Linked DNA regions of Homo sapiens: region 2 is linked to region 1. Evidence: promoter capture Hi-C in 16 types of primary human blood cells and fetal thymus (Javierre and others, 2016). All regions are on one chromosome and are shown on one strand. The core of a region is centred on a gene start or on the middle of the fragment in contact, and the rest is flanking DNA. Distances in the headings are between cores, read along the strand shown.

The links. Contacts are between HindIII fragments. The CHiCAGO score rates a contact against its expected background, and 5 or more counts as called.
Region 2: a contact is called between a fragment that was not itself captured here and the fragment with the promoter of ADRB1 in region 1, in 1 of 17 cell types (megakaryocytes). The highest score is 7.2, in megakaryocytes.

The regions. Positions count from the first base shown.
Region 1 is chr10:114,038,873-114,045,304 of GRCh38, forward strand. ADRB1 (adrenoceptor beta 1) reads left to right here and starts at 4,994. Exons shown (of 1, transcript NM_000684.3): 1 at 4,994-6,432. The coding sequence starts at 5,261. RefSeq lists an enhancer at 4,362-4,411 and silencers at 4,682-4,961, 5,032-5,091. The HindIII fragment of the contact is 8,909 bases long and covers 1-6,432 here.
Region 2 is chr10:113,777,291-113,783,725 of GRCh38, forward strand. PLEKHS1 (pleckstrin homology domain containing S1) reads left to right here. Exons shown (of 13, transcript NM_001395068.1): 13 at 3,312-6,139. The coding sequence ends at 3,491. It overlaps MIR4483 (microRNA 4483), which reads right to left and starts at 764; the gene lies at 703-764. The HindIII fragment of the contact is 989 bases long and covers 2,330-3,318 here.

The DNA of each region.
Region 1 (6,432 bases), core at 3,744-6,243:
CCCTGTGTAAATTGTGGCTACAAAACCAGTATCTGACCCTAAGTGTCAGGCGTGTTCTTTGGTTAGTTAGCACTGAGTGATTGTTTCAGCAGTTGTGTTGCTTTATGTGAAAGGTCATACATCTTTTCTGAGAAACAGCCACCTAAGCTCTGACTAACAAATCCTTTGGTTTATTATAGCTTGATTTCAAATAGCTTCAGGCTATTATCAGCCTCAAGGCACATTTTGCTAACAGATTTCGTACACTTCTTGGGGTTTTATTAAGAAATTCCCCCACATATCCCTTGGCGTATCTTCCAGCAGTTGTCCAGTTAGGCTACTCACTTTTATTTTTAACTCATTTTCTAGTAAAGTCAACTCAAGAATGTAAATGTCTTTGCCAGGCTCATGGCTTGCAACCTTGGATGGGTTAGATGCCTATTCATCACTGCTCTGCAGACTAATTTGATATACAACTTGAAACCACATTCAAGTCATCAGCAACTCTCCTGGGGCAGAAATGGCTGGATATATAGATTCGGTATCATAAATAATGGCTAAAGAAAAAGACTCTTCACCTGGGTCATTTATGAAGAATAGGTAGTACTTTTTTCTTTTCTTTTCTTTTCTTTTCTTTTCTTTTTTTTTTTTTTTTGAGTTAGGGTCTCACTCTGTCACCCAGGCTGGAGTGCAGTGGCACAACCACATTTCACTGCAGCCTCAACTCCTGGGCTCAAGTGATCCTCCTGACTCAGCCTCCCAAAGTGTTGGGATTACAGGCAGGAGCCACTGAGCCTGGCCAGGTAGTATTTTTTATGGACGTGGACTTGCATGTCTCCTTTGGAAAATCTCTTACCTATGTCTCGTTTTATTTACTACGAATAGGTATGATATACATTTATCTCATGAGCCTACCTTGCTTTTGTAAAGTATTTTGAAATGTTTATGTGAAAATGTTGAATAGGTGGTAAGAATATGGATTATTGCTGTAAATTATAAGCAAGAGTGAAGATTGTAACTACTAAAACACTCAATTATGTCTCAAGTGTATAAAAATGAGAATATTTTAATAAATTAAATATCATATATTTATGAATCAAAGCTAAATGTTCATTAATATCAAGTAAATATCAGTAAACATGGGAGATATAAAAATGTATGAGACAATTCTGGCTCTCAGTGAGCTTACAATCTATAAGAGAAGAAAAGGGGAAAATATAAAAATTAAATAACAACATAAGAAGTATCAAAAGGCAACCTATTGTAAATTGCCACCTGAAATGAAATTGGCAGAGTCACTACTATAGGTCAGAGGAAGGAGAGATCATTTTCAGAAGCAGTGGGCAGAGAAGATAAAGAGTCCAGCCACATCTCCAAGGCTGAATTCGCTGGGAAGCAGGAGGAGGTTTTGGTGGAGGGAACCCAGTGAGAAAGTATAGATGTACAAAAGGAAGGAGTATGGATCCCCAAAAGGAAAAAGAATACAGAAATGCAAGTTATGGTGATAAGGAGAGTTCTAATATGAAATAGGGCTGGAAAGGCCATTTAGAATTGGACCGGGGAGAACTGTGAATGTTAAATTGAAGAGGTAAGGTTGCTGAACAGAAAAGCATCTTGGTCAAAGCAGCATTTTGGAAATACTCCTTTGGTTATGATATGCCAGATTAAATGGAGCAGGGAGGACCAGAGACAGGGAGATCAAATAGAACCCATGGCAAGTCCCGGTGTGGGGTGAAGGTGGGGGGATGGGAAAGGAAGAAGTTGAGATAGGAACTCTGTGGAAGAAGTGCACGACCTCTCAAGTGTGCTGATCAGCCCTCATTGTTGGAGCTTTCTGTCATTTTCCAAAGCATTGTGAAATATATGGGTTTTTAGAACTGACTCTCTTTAACAGTTGCCAAGTGAAGAATGAAGAAATGAAGGAGTTTTATTTAACTTACAATATCCGATACCTGTAAAAGTTGATACGTTGAACCTTTTCTTCTTGATCTTGTATCCTTACCTAAGAATAAAAAGTGTTAGGCTAAAAAAAAAGTTAAAAAAAAAAAACACCAATCATAAAATGTAGGAATTAAAGGAGTTCTGAGAACATTTTATTTTTATTAGACAACCAACTCTAGTTGAACATGTACTATTCCAAACTCTTCTGTCAGTAAAATTGAAGGAAATCCCCCAGAATTCCTGAGATCCCTGTACTGGTACTCCTGCTAGAATAACCTTCTGGTTTCGAGGGTTTATAATTTAATGTATTATACAGAAATTCGGAGAAACTTGATGTATCTCTGAATGAGCAGAGAAAAAAAGTTTCAGGAAAGTTTTCCAACAATTCCAATGTCACGATGTGTTTATATATATAATGATGATACGGCAAAGTTACTGGCAATCTGGCTTCTGCCCTGAACCTCTACGACCAAGTTCTGGCCTTATCGCACACAGAAAAGCAATGCCTTCCACCCTTCGGGGGCATTTAAGGTTGACACACTCTATTCCGGTAACACCACTTGACAGAAAGATGGCAAGGAAAAGCCTCTTCCCCACATTCCCTATGCCTCACCCTGCAGCTCAGCACTCAGAACTCCTTTCCTGGGCAGCGTCAATTTCAACTTCTTCCAATCCCTTGGCTATTTTGAGACTGCCCCTTGTGGGTCCAGAAGGAAGCCAGGAGGCCGGGGACAGTGGCTCATGCCTCTAATCCCAGCACTTTGGGAGGCCAAGGTGGGTGGATCACCTGAGGTCAGGAGTTCGAGACCAGCCTGACCAACATGGTAAAACGCCATCTCCACTAAAAATACAAAATTAGCCGTGTGTGGCGGCACACGCCTGTAATCCCAGCTACTTGACAGGCTGAGGCAGGAGAATCACTTGAACCCGGGAGGCAGAGGTTGCAGTGGGCCAAGATCACGCCACTGAACTCCAGCCTGGGCAACAAAAGTGAAACTCTGTCTCAAAAAAATAAAAAGAAAGAAGCCAGGAGTCTCAGGCTTTCAGTGACTTGGATAACTTGGGGTGTAGTCTCCTTCCTCCCCTTTCTAACGCCTCTTGTTTCCTGGCCACTCCTCCTCAACCTCCCCAAGTTGGAAAATCAGCTGATAAATCATGGGCAGGGGGTGAATAAACAAATCACTCCCCAGTTTTAACATACTGATGCTGAGGTTTGGGCCTAAAGCAAATTCATATGTTTGCATTTATGTAAGAGAAAGTGGTTAAAACTGCTTGATTTTATATAAACTTGAAAAACATTACTTTTTGCTTTTGACCTGGACAGCTGTGGAAGTCGGTCTCTCCTTGCAAGGTAAGGATATGAGCTTGGTCATATTGATGACCATCAACGAACATGATGTTCGTTACGGGCGCTGTTCTTATTCCAATGCTAGAAGGACCTGTGAGCATTATATAACATTTTCATGCACCCTTACATAAACAATTAGAAGCTGTTTACTCCTCAAGGACTCAATTAGAGATTTTTTTAATTTTTTTATTTTTTTTTTTATTTCAGGCCTGAGCTGAGGACACTACAGGAGCCAAATTAGAGAAGGGGCTTGCAGTCCTGCCATATTGCATATTCATGGCTTTCTTGTCCCCTCACCCCCAGTATAATCCTTTTTGCCAGGTTAACAACTCACTAATTTCAAAGCAATTCATTTGCCAACTCAAAAAAAAAAAAAAAAAAAACCACAGATACAACTTTAAATGCTTTTGGATTTTAATCCTCTGGAGTATTTATATGTTTTCTTGTCTCATCCCTTCAAAACTAATCTCAGAGTTTTGAGAATCTGGGAACTTGGGCAAAGGAGAAAACAAGCACGCAGACCAAGGAATCTGAAATCGCAGTTCATTACGTCAGCATAAACTGACAGTACCTTTTTGTTTGTATTGACCCAGCTCAAATTATAAAATCACATGAGTAATAAAACACAAAATACAGGTGTTATCATTGAAAAGTCTAAAATGTAATTAAACGCGTTTTTTCCCCCTCGCGGTGGTATCGTTTACTCTGTATCTCAACGTTTCTGTCTCCCTAAGCCTCTCCTTTCATATCATGAGCATACATTTTTGCATCATGCTCACACGTTCATTAGCTAGGACTGAGGAGTGTGTACGATTCCAAAGGGCCCTCAGCGTTAGCTGTTAGATGCACAAACCTTCGCTTCCTTTCCACATCTACTGCACTCGAGGTTCAACAGAGGATCCTTGCAAGAACAGCGCCCAGAGAGCATTCTTGACAGATGCGCGCTTGGCTCCAGCAACCCGCTCTGCTGGGAAGTTTCTTCTAACCACTAACACCCACCTCCAATCCCCCAAGCTGTCACGACGCATGCTGGCTGGGTCCCGTCTTGACGGGGGAAGGGTTTTACACACACCCTGCTAGGCTGCCCCACATCACAACCAAGCTCGCAGGGCAAACTCCTCCAAGCCTGGCGGACAAGCTGTCCCAGGCGCTCTGGCGCTTCCTGAACACCAAGGTCCCCTCCCCGCTCAAGGGAGCTAGCGCTCTGTTCCGCAGAGAACCCCGGAACTGCAGGTCGAGGGGATGCGGGGGGAGCGGGGGCGCAGGAGGGAGCCGAGTGCTGGAGGCAAACGGGGCGCAGGAGCGGGTGCGGGAGGCAAACGGGGCGCAGGAGCGGGTGCGGGAGGCAAACGGGGCGCAGGAGTGGGTGCGGGAGCGAGTGGGGGCTGAGGGAGGGGACGGGGCCCCGGGGGGAGCCAGGCGCGGAAGGGGGCGCGGGGGAACAGGGACCAGGAACCAGCGGGCGCAGGAAGGGGTGCGTCCGCAGGAACCCGCGGGCGCACGGGAGGCACTAGCTACGCGATCAGCTCGGGACTCTCAGGAGCCGCTCAATTGCCAACGGGAGGGGGGTGCGGGGAGTTGGAGGTGGGGGTGCAGACCAGACGGGGGCGTGCCTTTGCCCGGATTGGCTGCAGGAGCCTGACGCGAGGCCCCGGGGGTTGGCTTGGGGAGTGGGAGCGGGGTGGGGTGGGTGCTGGGTGCCGGAGCTGCGGGCCCGGCGCGCTCAGAAACATGCTGAAGTCCCGGCGGCTCTTCCAGCAGCGGCAGCGGCTCCAGCAGCAGCGGCGGCGGCGGCGGCGGCGGCAGCGGCAGCGACAGCGCTCGGCTCCTGCGGGAAAGGCGCCCGGCGCCCATGCCTCCGGCCCCGCGCCGCGGCTGCCCTGACCCGGCCGCGACCTCCCTCTGCGCACCACGCCGCCCGGGCTTCTGGGGTGTTCCCCAACCACGGCCCAGCCCTGCCACACCCCCCGCCCCCGGCCTCCGCAGCTCGGCATGGGCGCGGGGGTGCTCGTCCTGGGCGCCTCCGAGCCCGGTAACCTGTCGTCGGCCGCACCGCTCCCCGACGGCGCGGCCACCGCGGCGCGGCTGCTGGTGCCCGCGTCGCCGCCCGCCTCGTTGCTGCCTCCCGCCAGCGAAAGCCCCGAGCCGCTGTCTCAGCAGTGGACAGCGGGCATGGGTCTGCTGATGGCGCTCATCGTGCTGCTCATCGTGGCGGGCAATGTGCTGGTGATCGTGGCCATCGCCAAGACGCCGCGGCTGCAGACGCTCACCAACCTCTTCATCATGTCCCTGGCCAGCGCCGACCTGGTCATGGGGCTGCTGGTGGTGCCGTTCGGGGCCACCATCGTGGTGTGGGGCCGCTGGGAGTACGGCTCCTTCTTCTGCGAGCTGTGGACCTCAGTGGACGTGCTGTGCGTGACGGCCAGCATCGAGACCCTGTGTGTCATTGCCCTGGACCGCTACCTCGCCATCACCTCGCCCTTCCGCTACCAGAGCCTGCTGACGCGCGCGCGGGCGCGGGGCCTCGTGTGCACCGTGTGGGCCATCTCGGCCCTGGTGTCCTTCCTGCCCATCCTCATGCACTGGTGGCGGGCGGAGAGCGACGAGGCGCGCCGCTGCTACAACGACCCCAAGTGCTGCGACTTCGTCACCAACCGGGCCTACGCCATCGCCTCGTCCGTAGTCTCCTTCTACGTGCCCCTGTGCATCATGGCCTTCGTGTACCTGCGGGTGTTCCGCGAGGCCCAGAAGCAGGTGAAGAAGATCGACAGCTGCGAGCGCCGTTTCCTCGGCGGCCCAGCGCGGCCGCCCTCGCCCTCGCCCTCGCCCGTCCCCGCGCCCGCGCCGCCGCCCGGACCCCCGCGCCCCGCCGCCGCCGCCGCCACCGCCCCGCTGGCCAACGGGCGTGCGGGTAAGCGGCGGCCCTCGCGCCTCGTGGCCCTGCGCGAGCAGAAGGCGCTCAAGACGCTGGGCATCATCATGGGCGTCTTCACGCTCTGCTGGCTGCCCTTCTTCCTGGCCAACGTGGTGAAGGCCTTCCACCGCGAGCTGGTGCCCGACCGCCTCTTCGTCTTCTTCAACTGGCTGGGCTACGCCAACTCGGCCTTCAACCCCATCATCTACTGCCGCAGCCCCGACTTCCGCAAGGCCTTCCAGGGACTGCT
Region 2 (6,435 bases), core at 1,574-4,073, 260 kb before region 1:
AAATCAGTACCAGAAGGAAAAAGATCAGGGTCTTAGATGGAGTCTGAGAAGTACCCTGAATACAAATAAGGTTCCTCATTCTTCCACCATCAAGTGCAAATAACAGAATGTGCTTTCAGGACTCTTTCAGGATTCTTTCATATCAAGTAGCATTTGGAGAAGGCACTGAGCTAAGAGACAGAGCACCTGGGTTCAGGACCTCAGATCGGCATGATGTAGCAAAAAGAGCTTGCATGGAATCAGACTGGTGCAGGGATTCCAAAACAGCTCCTTCAACCAATTTGTGCCTCAGTTTTCTTTTCTGTAAAATTATGACTAATGATGGTGCTGGTTGTTGGATAATTAAATGAGGTAATATGTGTAACGTGCTTACAAAGGTGACTGGCACATATTAGGTGCTCAATAAAGCTACTAGTTACTTTTACTTCTACTACAACTGACCATGGAATGTTATTCAAGCCCATTTTTTAAAGCCTCAGTTTCATTATCTCAGAAATCGTCACAGCCCTAACTTCCTCATAGAATATTGCAAGAATTAAACATAATATGTGGTGCTGGGCACGGTGGCTTACACCTGTAATCCCAGCACTTCGGAAGGCCAAGGCAGGAGAATCAATTGAGCCCAGGAATTCAAGGTTACAGTGTGCTATGATTGCACCACTGCACTCCAGCCTGGAAGACAGAGCGAGACCCTGTCTCAAAAGAAAAACAACAACAGACCACCCCTAATATTATATGGGTATGCACTAAGTATGTTGTTTTTTCAAGGACTAGCTATTGTCCTGCATATCACTGCAGTCTTCATGTGTTAATTCCTTCCCTGGTCTACTTTTCTTTCTAACTAGCCCTGTGACCTTAGGAAATTCACTGCCTTCTCTGGGCTTCAGCTTATTCTCACTAAAGTGAGAGGCTGGTTTTCAAACTGTGCTTCTTGCATCCCCAGGATGGAGGTGAAAGGAGAGGAGAGGAAGGAGAGAGTATGCTGGGTCTTCAACTGGAGAAGCTTACATTTATCTTTTATCTTTTATGAAAAAAAGATTAGTCCAAAATATTGGACTTTCCTGTTAGCTTTCCTTAAAAAACAGTTCTTTGGCTTCAAATTTCTGAAAACCATTGTATTAGATGATTTCCAAATTTCTTCCAGCTCTAGGAATTTTGTGATTGTGTAGCATATCTATATTAAGAACACATCTTATCTCTTCTGCACTACGTAATAATCCCATTGGTCACACAAATTGTGCCATCCCTATTACTCATTACCCTAAATGAGTAATTCCAGTGAGGATAAGTGAATGAGTTGTCTAAGATATATAACTAGTTAGTGGCAGGGCAAGTACACATTCGTTCACTTTCTTTTTTTTTTTTTTTTTTGAGACGGAGTCTCGCTCTTTCGCCCAGGCTGGAGTGCAGTGGCGCAAACTCGGCTCACTGCAAGCTCCGCCTGCCGGGTTCACACCATTCTCCTGCCTCAGCCTCCTGAGTAGCTGGGACTACAGGCGCCGGCCACTACGCCCAGCTAATTTTTTGTATTTTTAGTAGAAACAGGGTTTCACCGTGGTCTCAATCTCCTGACCTCGTGATCCGCCCGCCTCGGCCTCCCAAAGTGCTGGGATTACAGGCGAGAGCCACTGCGCCCGGCCCATTCACTATTTATTGAGCATCTGCTGGGTGCTGTATACTGTGCTAAATTCAAGAGCTACAAAAATGGCCTCAGCCTGAGCTGAAGCTCACAGATTAGTGGATGAAGCAGGCATGTTATGTGCTACTTGCTATACAGTGTGTGCCCTGAGATATGAACACAGGGCCATAGGATCACAGAGGTAGAATGGAGTAAATCTACATGAAGGAGGCCAGGAAGGTGTCTCAAAGAAAGTGGTGTTTGGCTTAGGTTTTGAAGACTGGATAGGAGACTGCATGGTGGAAAAGAAGTAGATTTCAGGGCCCTAGTCCAACAATCTGGTAACTATAGTACATTTTCTCTGCCAAAGATCCACACTGGGCTGGGTGTGGTGGCTCACACCTGTAACCCCAGCACTTTGGGAGGCGGAGGTGGGCAGATCATGAGGTCAGGAATTCGAGACCAGCCTGGCCAATATAGTGAAACCCCGTCTGTATGAAAAATACAAAAAATTAGCTGGGCATGGTGGCGGGTGCCTGTTATCCCAGCTACTGGGGAGGCTGAGGCAGGAGAATAGCTTGAACCCAGGAAGCGGAGGTTGCAGTGAGCCGAGATTGCACCATTGCACTCCAGCCCTGGGAACAGTGTGAGACTCTGTCTCAAAAAAAAAAAAAAAGGATCCACATACACTGGGGCCAAGTGGTCAATATAAGCTTCTGAACTCTTCTGAAAGTTACCAAACACTACTCTGACCCAAAGATCCAGGCATTAATTCAGAAGCCAAGAAAAGGGTTTTTGCCTGTGAGCAGATCCAGGAACTGTACCTGGGTGTTGCTGACTGCAGTTTATCCTGACTGCCTTTCTAGACTGTGGAGTCATTGCATTTCTCTTGTGCTCGTTCTGCCTTCCCTTTCTAATTGATAACAGCCCCTACATGCTATTGAGAAATATGCAGTATTCATCTTCATGATTATCTGGAAGATAGAAAATTCCCTTACTTTCCCACTGCCTCCATTCCTGATTTCTTTGTGTTGATGGGTATCCACTGCTCTTTTAAAATTCAAACACATAGTCCCTGGAAGGAAAAAGAATATTGGAAAAGGGAGATATGGAACCAAAGGAAGAACAGCCATTGGCCCTTGATGTTTTAAAGTGCCTGAGCCAATCCCATTTACTCTCCTTCCTGTTATGCTACAGATGAGGGAAGTGGAGGTTGGGGTGGGGATGGGGCAGGGATTGGGAGGGGAGAGAACTGAGATTTTCAAGGGAAGGGGAGAAGGTGTGTGCAGGGGAAGGACATGACAGGTTGCAGGAGAAACTGATCAAGTTTAAGTTTCCTCCCAATCTTGTCTGGGGGAGTCCTGTCTGGTGGTTTCATTTTGATTCACTTGTTTGAAGAGGCCTTTTTAATTCTTGGTGCAATTGGACCCCTTAGAGCACCATCAATGCTACCTGGATCCTTCCTTAAAAGCTCAGCTTCCTTTTCAGGCCATGGATGCCAGAAAATAAAAATCCACCTTCCACCTAACTAGCCAAGTAAGTCATCCCTGTCTATTTCTGGCCCAGATATTACAGTTCACTGCAGGACTTTCTTCAATACCAGCTCCCAAGGGTATGAATGAGGACAGATTGGGAAGCAACAATCTTAAAGATAATCTTTAGCCATTTAACTTTCTTCTTTCTTGTGTTTTAGAAATTAAAGCTTACCATCGGCAGGATCCCAAATTCAGAGACATTCCATGCTGCATCCTGTATGTGTCCCTCAAAATGCCAAAGTGCTGCACCTTCTCAGCTGGATAAGCCTAGACTGAACAGAGCTCCCAAGAGGAGTCCGGCCATTAAAAAGAGCCAGCAGAAAGGAGCCAGGGAGTAACGCACCCCAGACCCATGGCAGCAGAACCAGGATGGAGCTGGGACTGTCCAGCTCTGCCCCCTGCTGCTGCCATGTGATAGGAGACAGTCGGCACCCCCCTCTGAATTTCTGCATCTGCATCTTAACAATGGGGATGACTATCCCCTCTCTGGTTATTGTATCAGAGATGCTAAGAGGGTCATGTGGCATGATTGGAGAACCTGGGGGAATTGGAAGGCCTTATTATCTCAGCTATTGTCCCAAACACCACAGACACAGATTGGGTCAGTCCTTCATGTAATACATGCTGTGTTCTGTGAGGATGTGGTCCACACAATTCCTTCTTTGTTAAGGGACATACAGTTGCAAATACTCACTGCATGAAGGCAAGATTCCCAAGGGAGATGTGATAGCTGATCAGGCTTCCCAGACACCTCCTTCCCAAACACCTCCTTCCCAACACCTCCTTCCCCAACATCCTTCCCAACACCTCCTTCCCAACACCTCCTTCCCAAACACCTCCTTCCCAAACACCTCCTTCCCAACACCTCCTTCCCCAACACCTCCTTCCCAAACACCTCTTTCCCAAACACCTCCTTCCCAGACACCTCCTTCCCAACACCTCCTTCCCAACACCTCCTTCCCAAACCCCTCTTTCCCAAACACCTCCTTCCCCAACACCTCCTTCCCAACACCTCCTTCCCCCTTCCCCAACACCTCCTTCCCCAACACCTCCTTCCCAACACCTCCTTCCCAAACCCCTCCTTCCCCAACATCCTTCCCAACACCTCCTTCCCAACACCTCCTTCCCAAACACCTCCTTCCCAAACACCTCCTTCCCAACACCTCCTTCCCCAACACCTCCTTCCCAAACACCTCTTTCCCAAACACCTCCTTCCCAGACACCTCCTTCCCAACACCGCCTTCCCAACACCTCCTTCCCAAACCCCTCTTTCCCAAACACCTCCTTCCCCAACACCTCCTTCCCCAACACCTCCTTCCCAACACCTCCTTCCCCCTTCCCCAACAACTCCTTCCCCAACACCTCCTTCCCAAACATCCCCTTCCCAAACACCTGCCTCTCTTCAACCCCACAGGCCAGAGTGCTGAGACAGAGTGGCCTTTTGGATTCAATAAGTATCTTGTTCTCTTAAAGACTCAGCAACGATTTTAGAAGTCGCAGCAGTTTTACATCACATGCAGCCAAGATCAGCTTGCTCTACAAGCAATAACAGAACTACTTAGCACTTCAAGGTTGAAAGTTCTTCACTAATGGATCCATTGACTAATTGATCCTGGAAGGCCAAAGGAATAAAATTCTTTTATATAAATAGGAAAACAAAGGCAGAGAGCTAAAGCACTAATCAAATCGGGGGGTGTTAGAGCAAAAACAGGCTTCAGAAAGAGTATTTTACCATGCTTCACATGGAAAAAATCGAGCCCCGGAGCGATGAAAGGCATATTTTCTTTGTTTCTCCAAGTTTCATAACCGTTCAGTTGCAGAACCAAGAATCTAAAACCAGCTCTGGGAAACAAATGTCCAGATGCCAGCCTCATAGTTGAACTTGGATTTGAAAATACCTTCAGCACTTAGAAGAGACATTCAAATACATTTCATTTCCTGTTACCCAGATTGTTCGGAAAGTATTAAAAATTTTTCATTTACATGCTGATACGGTTTGGATCTGTGTCCCTAACAAATCCCATGTCGAGCTGTGGTCCCCGGTGTTGGAGATGGAGCCTGGTGGGAGGCAGCTGGATCGTGAGGTCGTGGGGGTGGAGTTCTCACGAAGGAGTTAGCATCATCCCCTTGGCGCTGTTCTCGTGATAGTAAGTTCTCGTGAGATCTGGTTGTTTAAAAGTGTGCAGCACCTCTCCGCTCACTCTCTTCCTCCTGCTCCTGCCGTGTAAGATGCCTGCTCTGTCTGCCACAAGTGAAAGCTTCCTGAGGTCTCCCCGGAAGCAGATGCTGCCACGCTTCCTGTACAGCCTGCAGAACTGTGGACCAATCAAACCTCTTTTCTTATAAATTACCTGGTCTTGGGGATTTCTTTATTTAATGTGAGAACGCATGCCCTTTTGGATCTGCTGTTTCTACTTTTATAAATTTATCATGCAGAAATACACAAATACACAAAGATACATGTAAAAAAAGTAGTTTACTGCAGTACTGTTTGTAATAATAAAAAATCAGGCTGGACGTGGTGGTTCATGCCTATAATTCCAACCCTTTGGGAGGCCGGGACAGGTGGATCACCTGAGGTCTGGAGCTCGAGAACAACCTGACCAACATGGAGAAACCCTGTCTCTACTAAAAATACAAAACTAGCTGGGCATTGTGGCACATGCCTGCAATCCCAGCTACTTGAGAGGCTGGGGCAGGAGAATCACTAGAACCGGGAGGCGGAAGTTGCAGTGAGCCAAGATCATGCCATTGCACTCCAGCCTGGGCAACAAGAGGAAAACCCAGTCTCAAAAAAAAAAAAAAAATCATGTGGGTATTGCTTAATTCTGATTTCATATCATTGAACACTGTAGATATTAAAATGTTCAGCAGGCACAGTTCTGTAAAATTGTTCGTGATACATTAAGAATGAAAGAATCAAGTTGTATAATAAGGATAACATCATCCCACTTTTGTACAAATAAATGTTTGGTGTTTGTGTGTATGTATATGTGTATATCAAATTTCTTCAACCCTTACTAGAGTGAGAGGTCCGTACCTCCCAGGGCTACTGTGAGGTTTCCTTATAAGTACACTGCCTGATCAGGAGTAAACACTCCATAGGTGTTCTTTGTCCCACTTTTGCTCTACGTGCTTTTTTAAAAAATTAAAACTTAGAGTCAAATTTTTAGTAAAGAGTTATCTCTGAGAAATACGATCAGGGTTGGCCATGGGAAGAGAGGCATTTCTGTAATGTTTGAATACTTTTTTTTGCAATGTGCATATGTCACTTTTATAATA